Linked DNA regions of Homo sapiens: all the other regions are linked to region 2. Evidence: promoter capture Hi-C in 16 types of primary human blood cells and fetal thymus (Javierre and others, 2016). All regions are on one chromosome and are shown on one strand. Each heading gives the region's core, a stretch centred on a gene start or on the middle of the fragment in contact. The rest is flanking DNA. Distances are from core to core; before and after follow the strand shown. Region 1 has its middle 15 kb from the start of UCHL1. Region 2 holds the start of LIMCH1-AS1 (LIMCH1 antisense RNA 1). Region 3 has its middle 37 kb from the start of UCHL1.

Region 1 (2,700 bases), core at 89-2,588, 420 kb before region 2:
TAAGGATACACTATTATGTAATGTATAGGTTTTCATTAAATATTAAAGGAGGACGTCTGTTCTCAACAATGGACGTTGAATGTAACAGTTCACTTCCAGTTACACAAAATGAGGGAAGCAGGGAAGAAACCCAATGCTTCCTGCCTATACTGTGATCCTCACAAAAGGGCTCTGTCCTGTCTGGTGCCAGGAATCCAGATAACTTGGGTCTCAACTGCCTTATTCACAGTTCTCTAAGCCCTGATTATGGTGGTAATATTCCTGATTCCAACTTTTTTTTTTTGGGGGGGGGGCATAATTTACAGAAAATTTATTCATGTATTCAAATTATCTGCAATTTCTTTTTTTTAAAAATTATTATACTTTAAGTTTTAGGGTACATGTGCACAACATGCAGGTTTGTTACATATGTATACATGTGCCATGTTGGTGTGCTGCACCCATTAACTTGTCATTTAGCATTAGCTATATCTCCTAATGCTATCCCTCCCCCCTCCCCCAACCCCACAACAGTCCCCGGTGTGTGATGTTCCCCTTCCTGTGTCCATGTGTTCTCATTGTTCAGTTCCCACCTATGAGTGAGAACATGCGGTGTTTGGTTTTTTGTCCTTGTGATAGTTTGCTGAGAATGATGGTTTCCAGCTTCATCCATGTCCCTACAAAGGACATGAACTCATCATTTTTTATGGCTGCATAGTATTCCATGGTGTATATGTGCCACATTTTCTTAATCCAGTCTATCATTGTTGGACATTTAGGTTGGTTCCAAGTCTTTGCTATTGTGAATAGTGCCACAATAAACATACGTGTGCATGTGTCTTTATAGCAGCATGATTTATAATCCTTTGGGTATATACCCAGTAATGGGATGGCTGGGTCAAATGGTATTTCTAGTTCTAGATCCCTGAGGAATGGCCACACTGACTTCCACAATGGTTGAACTAGTTTACAGTCCCACCAACAGTGTAATAGTGTTCCTACTTCTCCACATCCTCTCCAGCACCTGTTGTTTCCTGACTTTTTAATGATTGCCATTCTAACTGGTGTGAGATGGTATCTCGTTGTGGTTTTGATTTGCATTTCTCTGATGGCCAGTGATGATGAGCATTTTTTCATGTGTTTTTTGGCTGCATAAATGTCTTCTTTTGAGAAGTGTCTGTTCATATCCTTCACCCACTTTTTGATGGTGTTGTTTGTTTTTTTCTTGTCAATTTGTTTGAGTTCATTGTAGATTCTGGATATTAGCCCTTTGTCAGATGAGTAGGTTGTGAAAATTTTCTCCCATTCTGTAGGTTGCCTGTTCACTCTGATGGTATTTTCTTTTGCTGTGCAGAAGCTCTTTAGTTTAATTAGATCCCATTTGTCAATTTTGTCTTTTGTTGCCATTGCTTTTGGTGTTTTAGACATGAAGTCCTTGCCCATGCCTATGTCCTGAATGGTATTGCCTAGGTTTTCTTCTAGGGTTTTTATGGTTTTAAGTCTAACATGTAAGTCTTTAATCCATCTTGAATTAATTTTTGTATAAAGTGTAAGGAAGGGATCCAGTTTCAGCTCTCTACATATGGCTAGCCCGTTTTCCCAGCACCATTTATTAAATAGGGAATCCTTTCCCCATTGCTTGTTTTTGTCAGGTTTGTCAAAGATCAAATAGTTGTAGATATGCGGCATTATTTCTGAGGGCTCTGTTCTGTTCCATTGGTCTATATCTCTGTTTTGGTACCAGTACCATGCTGTTTTGGTTACTGTAGCCTTGTAGTATAGTTTGAAGTCAGGTAGCATGATGCCTCCAGCTTTGTTCTTTTGGCTTAGGATTGACTTGGTGATGCGGGCTCTTTTTTCATTCCATATGAACTTTAAAGTAGTTTTTTCCAATTCTGTGAAGAAAGTCATTGGTAGCTTGATGGGGATGGCATTGAATCTATAAATTACCTTGGGTAGTATGGCCATTTTCACGATATTGATTCTTTCTACCCATGAGCATGGAATGTTCTTCCATTTGTTTGTATCCTCTTTTATTTCATTGAGCAGTGGTTTGTAGTTCTCCTTGAAGAGGTCCTTCACATCCCTTGTAAGTTGGATTCCTAGGTATTTTATTCTCTTTGAAACAATTGTGAATGGGAGTTCACTCATGATTTGGCTCTCTGTTTGTCTGTTATTGGTGTATAAGAATGCTTGTGATTTTTGCACATTGATTTTGTATCCTGAGACTTTGCTGAAGTTGCTTATCAGCTTAAGGAGATTTTGGGCTGAGACAATGGGGTTTTCTAGATATACAATCATGTCATCTGCAAACAGGGACAATTTGACTTCCTCTTTTCCTAATTGAATACCCTTTATTTCTTTCTCTTGCCTGATTGCCCTGGCCAGAGCTTCCAACACTAAGTTGAATAGGAGTGGTAAGAGAGGGCATCCCTGTCTTGTGCCAGTTTTCAAAGGGAATGCTTCCAGTTTTTGTCCATTCAGTATGATATTGGCTGTGGGTTTGTCATAGATAGCTCTTATTATTTTGAGATACATCCCATCAATACCTAATTTATTGAGAGTTTTTAGCATGAAGCGTTGTTGAATTTTGTCAAAGGCCTTTTCTGCATCTATTGAGATGATCATGTGTTTTTTGTCTTTGGTTCTGTTTATATGCTGGATTACATTTATTGATTTTCATATGTTGAACCAGCCTTGCGTCCCAGGGATGAAGCCCAC
Region 2 (2,758 bases), core at 189-2,688:
TCCTACAGTCTCTTTCTGCACTCAGCCTGTGTTGGTGGAAATTCCCAGTGGATTTGTTGCTCTGAATATCACTGCTTTTAATGTGGAAATATAAAATGGAACAGCAGGCTGGGCACGGTGGCTCATGCCTGTAATCCCAGCACTTTGGGAGGCCAAGGTGGGCAGATAACCTGAGGTCAGAAGTTCGAGACCAGCCTGGCCAACATGGTGAAACTCCATCTTTACTAAAAATACAAAAAAAAAAAAAAAAAAAAAATAGCCAGGCGTGGTGGCACACGCCTGTAATCCCATCTACTCAGGAGGCTGAGGCAGGAGAATTGCTTGAGCCCAGGAAGTGGAGGTTGCAGTGAGCTGAGATCATGCCATTGCACTCCAGCCTGGCCTACAGAGCGAGACACTGTCTTAAAAAATAAATAAAATAAACAAATGGAACAGGTACTTCCTAGAAATTTTGATCTGGTAGAACTTAGCAACGATGCTGGCAAGCCTTTAAAGATTATTGATGGACACATTTCAATTGATAACTCATTGGCCATGTGTTTATTTAAAGCCACTAGGGTTTAATGTGTTTAAAATGGTTCTTCCATTTTGATTGAGAAACGGTGTATGATAGAGGTTAAGACGCTAGGCTTTGGAGTCAACCTGCTACCACTTATCAGCTCCACAACCTAGGAACAAGCCAACAAACCTCACTGAACCAGTGTCCTTCTCTGTAAAATGCAAGGAATTAAGCTAAAATTGCTAACTGTATATTTGCTTTTGCTGTAAGTTGACACTGGTGCAGCATCTTACACATAATAGATGCTCCACAAATGTGGTGATTGTAGAAGGGATTATTGTGCTATTCACATAAACAGTAACTAAGCATTAGAAAGAAACAATTCCTTATGCATCTTATGATGTCTGTTCTTTTTACCCTATAGTGTGGAATTTGTAAAGGCCAGCTTGGAGATGCAGTGAGTGGGACGGATGTTAGGATTCGAAATGGTCTCCTGAACTGTAATGATTGCTACATGCGATCCAGAAGTAAGTACTGGGGAGAATGCCTCATGATGACCGAGTGTAATCGTATGTCTTCCATAGGACCCAATTTAGGAATTCAAATATTTTTCCCCAGCCGTTGACACTCTAATCTGAGAGAAAGGTTTCTTAACATCTAGGTTAAAAAAGAAAAGATATTTACCACTCGTTTCTTCCTGGAAGTTATTGCTACAATGTGGACCAATTCTTTTTATCCTGAAGTGCATCAGCACACCAGCAGGTCAAAACATTGCCTGAGCTCACTACAGAGATTTTGGTGTGATAGAAAGGAGATATAAGGTCTGTCAAACACTGTCACTTGTTCAGGCATGTCTTTAGACGACTGGCACCATTTGGGGATGGTTAAATGTGGAGAGCGGCTCTCCACTGTTTCTCAGATCGAGCACCAACTCATCAATGTCTCCACGCCCTACATTCAGGAGTTTCATTACGTCATATGTGTTCCCAACTGAATGGAAAGTTCCTTGAGAGACAACAATGAGGGTTCCACTTCTCTGTGGATTCTTCCCCACCTCCCACCTCTACAATATCTTAGTAACAATATGCGCTTAACAAATTATTTGCTGCCTTAGTAAGTGAGAAGCCTGCTTGCTTTCCCGTCTTGCATCCGGGCCTCCTACTGTGGAAGGTGCATGTTAGTTTGCGGGGCAGCAGGGGGTGCTGTTGCCTAGCCGCTGTTTAGAAAATCTGAAAATGGCCAGTGGCTTGCCTCGGAATGTTTCCTCATTCTCCATCATGAGTACAGTCCTTCTGGTGGGTCACCTAGACAGCAGAAGACCTTTTAGTGCAGATTCATCAGTCAGAAACTCTTTTAAAAAATTGGAGTGAAGATAGGGAGTGTGAAATTCAAGAATGACTATTTCTCAAAGTGAAGTCACGTTTTTACTGCCTTTTTACATGGATCTCAAATCTCTGCAAGACTGAAAACTTTGAGAATAAAAATTGAAGGTAATTTGTTTTATAGCTATAGATTTAGTAAATTCAGTTAAATATGCCTATTAATAAAATGGGAAATAAAAATTTAATCAAACCCAGGTAGTTTAGATTTATAATAAATATTTGACTTGAGATCAAAACAGTTCCAACTTAGAGCCGCTGCTATCAAACTGGACTATTTAGATCATGCATGATATTAGTTTTTATACTATGTATTTTATATATTAAATTATATAAATAGTATACCATATATCATAAATATATACACACAAATTAACATATATAGTACATGTATAATAGGTAATAATTATATACATTTTATTTAAACTGGACTTTTGCTTTTATATGCTAACAAGGAAAACAACTCTTTTCTCCCAGATTTCAATGCGAATTTTCCTATCGTCTTCTATAAATTATTCTTTTTCTCTACCTCAGTGAACCACAGTGAATGTAATTTATGGAACCAGAAGAGGGCACTGTTAGGTTGAAGGACTGCTCAGAAAGATTTGAAAAGTGCTGTAGATCTGAGTTTGTTTAATAATTTAAAGTGCTTGAAGGATGCCAACAGAACAACCTGAACCCCCCTCTGGGTGACAGTGACCTCTTTTCATCTAGATTTTTTTAAATTGAGAGGTTGGGTGATTCTTTGTCATTTCTTTTGGAAATTAGCTTTTTAATTCAAGACCAGGAATTTTTCTCTTAAATATACAAATATAAAGGGCATTAACTGCTTTTAATTTCAAAACCATGGAGTTCCTGTAATCAGCTGAAAAATAAGAAA
Region 3 (2,966 bases), core at 287-2,786, 400 kb before region 2:
GGATTCCAATTTCTCCACATTCTCACCAACACTTATCTTCTGTTTTTTTTTTTTTGAAAAATGTTAAAGTAATCATCCTAGTGGGTATGGAGGTGCTATCTCATTGTGGTTTTGATTTGCGTTTTCCTAATGATTAGTGATATTGAGCATCTTTATATGTCATACATAAAAAGAATGAAAAGGTAACCTATACAATGAGAGAAAATATTTGCAAATCATATGTCTGATAAAGGGTTAAAATATATAGGGTTAATTCACTCATCTATAAAGGGTTAATTCACTCATATAGATGTCTTTTCTTTTCTTTTCTTTTCTTTTTTTTTTTTTTTTTTTTTGAGACGGAGTCTTGCTCTGTCACCCAGGCTGAAGTGCAGTGGTGCGATCTCGGCTCACTGCAAGCTCCACTTCCTGGGTTCATGCCATTCTCCTTCCTTAGCCTCCTGAGTAGCTAGGACTACAGGTGCCCACCACAACTCCCGGCTAATTTTGTTTTTGTATTTTTAGTAGAGACAGGGTTTCACCATGTTAGCCAGGATGGTCTCGATCTCCTGACCTCATGATCCTCCCACCTCGGCCTCCCAAAGTGCTGGGATTACAGGCATGAGCCACTGTGCCTGGCCTATAGATGTCTTTTCTAAAAAAAGAAAGATAAAGGGTTAATTCACTCATATAGATGTCTTTTCTAAGAAAGAAAGAGAGAGAGAAAGAGAAAGAAAAGAAAGAAAGAAAGAAAGAAAGAAAGAAAGAAAGAAAGAAAGAAAGAAAGAAAGAAAAGAAAAGAAAAGAAAAGAAAAGAGAAAAGAAAAGAGGGAGAGAAGGAGGGAGGAAAGAAAAGAAAAGAAACCAGAATGCCAGAATGGCATAGAGCCATGTGAGGTTGCACTTAATGGACTGCAGAGTAGCAGCACGAGAGTCCCCCATGGGATGCATTAACAAGGCTTTCTGGAGGGCAGGAATCCTGAGTGGTCCCAAACTTGACTGTACATTGTAATCAACTGGAATGCCTTAAGGAGTCCCAATGTGTGGGTTCCACCACAGGGATTCTCATTTATTCAGTTGGGGTACAGCCTGGGCATCTGTATGTTTTAGAAGTTCCCAGATGAGAGATGAAAGTGTTCTGGAACTAGACAGTGGTGATGGCTGTATATTCTGAACGTATTAGAACAGATTATATGTCACTAATGGTAAATGCTATGTTTGTGTATTTTACCACACACACAAAAGTTCCCTGATGATGCTATGGGCAAGACAAAGTTGACAATCAACAAAGCTTTGTTGCCATTTCTCAGATAATAAGAATCAAGTGGAAGTCTTTGTTAAATAAATAGATTGCCAGACCTCAAAGCCAGGAAGTCTCATTCTGTTTATCTGGATGGGGGCAAAGGAATCTGTGCTTTCAAATAGAACACCAGGTAATTCTTCTTTCTTTTTTTGAGATGGAGTCTCTGTTGCCCAGGCTGGAGTACAGTGGCATGATCTCGGTTCACTGCAACCTCTGCCTCCCAGGTTCAAGCGATTCTCCTGCCTCAGCCTCCCGAGTAGCTGAGACTACAGGCCCGTGCCACCACACCCGGCTAATTTTTTTAGTAGAGACGGGGTTTCACGGTGTTAGCCAGGATGGTCTCAAAATTCTGACCTCGTGATCCACCTGCCTCAGCCTCCCAGAGTGCTGGGATTACAAGCATGAGCCACCGTGCCCGGCCAACACCAAGTAATTCTTATACAAGAGAAGTTTGGGAAACCCAGATATACCCAGTGCTTCCCAAGCCTGCTCAATTGTAAGAATCACCAGGGGATCCTGTTAAGCTTCCAAATCTATTGATAGGCCCATCTAGACTTTTTTTTTTTTTTTTTTGAGACAGAGTCTCACTCTATCACCCAGGCTGGAGTGCAGTGGTGCAACCTTGGCTCACTGCAACCTCCACCTTCTGGGTTCAAGCGATTCTCCTGCCTCAGCCTCCCAAAGTGCTAGGATTACAGGTGTGAGCCACTGAGCCTGGCCCATCCAGACCTATTAAACTTGGATCTCCAGAGGAAGGCTGGGACTTGGTGGACTTAATATGCTACCCAGCTAATTCTCCTGACCAGGCACACTTGAGAAACACCATCTAGTCTAGCCCTCAGTGTTGGCTATTCTACAAAACCTCCTTAAAGAAAAAATCAAATTCCTTACTCCCAGAGATGCTAATTCTGGGTGGGGCCCAAGTATCCAAAGTTTATTATTTTTTGTTTTATAAGCTACCATCCCTGAGTTTGAGGAATAACTGAAATGAATCACTGTTGCAGCCATTCTTTTGGAAAGCAAATTGTGCTCATGTTTCATGGTTACTTATTGAGTCCTTGAGCATGTGCAGTTCTACACAGCAGTATATCCAGAAGCTGAGAATTAGAAAGGTAAGGGTGTCTCAGCCTGCTGTAAGGGAGATGGCTGTGCTTTAGTCAGGAGTAGTCTGAGGAAGCCTTCTGGTGCAGCATAACTCAGCAGGTTTGGAGTGCAGGTGCACAACTCCACACAGTATTTAACCATGCCATGTCAGGCACATTATGTAACCACGCCACGTAAGGTGCATTAGGTGATCACCCATGTGAGCTCATGCTTGGCTTGGAGTCACTATTGCCTGTAAAAGGTATAATTACCCTGCTGACACTGTACATATGGCTCATGCCCAGGGAGAGAATGTACATACAGCTCGTGCCCACAGCTCATGCCTAGGCTCGCTTGTGCCAGAGAGAGGGTAAAAGCCATGTTGAAACTGTCTACAATTCCTCGAATGTTTTTCCAGCTACCTGCCACCCCACTGACTCCCCTCGGACCTCAGTTAGAACCTAACACCTGCCCGTGAAGTAGCTGGGAACAAGTCATGGAAGCAGGAAGAAAAGGATTGAGATGCACAAAGAGTAAAGAAAGAGAATCCTCGGTGACAGCTTGCTGTCATGTGGGGCGAAACAGAGATCCCTGGTGAGCT

Evidence for each region. The method cuts DNA at HindIII sites, captures the fragments that hold promoters and counts their contacts. A CHiCAGO score of 5 or more calls a contact.
Region 1: a contact is called between a fragment that was not itself captured here and the fragment with the promoter of LIMCH1-AS1 in region 2, in 4 of 17 cell types (M0 macrophages, M2 macrophages, monocytes and 1 more). The highest score is 7.1, in M0 macrophages.
Region 3: a contact is called between a fragment that was not itself captured here and the fragment with the promoter of LIMCH1-AS1 in region 2, in 6 of 17 cell types (M1 macrophages, M2 macrophages, monocytes and 3 more). The highest score is 7.5, in M1 macrophages.

The regions. Positions count from the first base shown.
Region 1 is chr4:41,270,083-41,272,782 of GRCh38, forward strand. No RefSeq gene overlaps it. Among named protein-coding and RNA genes, the nearest start is that of UCHL1, 15 kb to the left of the region's middle. The HindIII fragment of the contact is 2,755 bases long and covers 1-2,700 here.
Region 2 is chr4:41,691,359-41,694,116 of GRCh38, forward strand. It overlaps LIMCH1-AS1 (LIMCH1 antisense RNA 1), which reads right to left and starts at 1,439. Exons shown (of 3, transcript XR_002959789.2): 1 at 1,184-1,439. LIMCH1 (LIM and calponin homology domains 1) reads left to right here. Exons shown (of 32, transcript NM_001330672.2): 31 at 924-1,026. The HindIII fragment of the contact is 18,346 bases long and covers 1-2,758 here.
Region 3 is chr4:41,292,146-41,295,111 of GRCh38, forward strand. No RefSeq gene overlaps it. Among named protein-coding and RNA genes, the nearest start is that of UCHL1, 37 kb to the left of the region's middle. The HindIII fragment of the contact is 536 bases long and covers 1,269-1,804 here.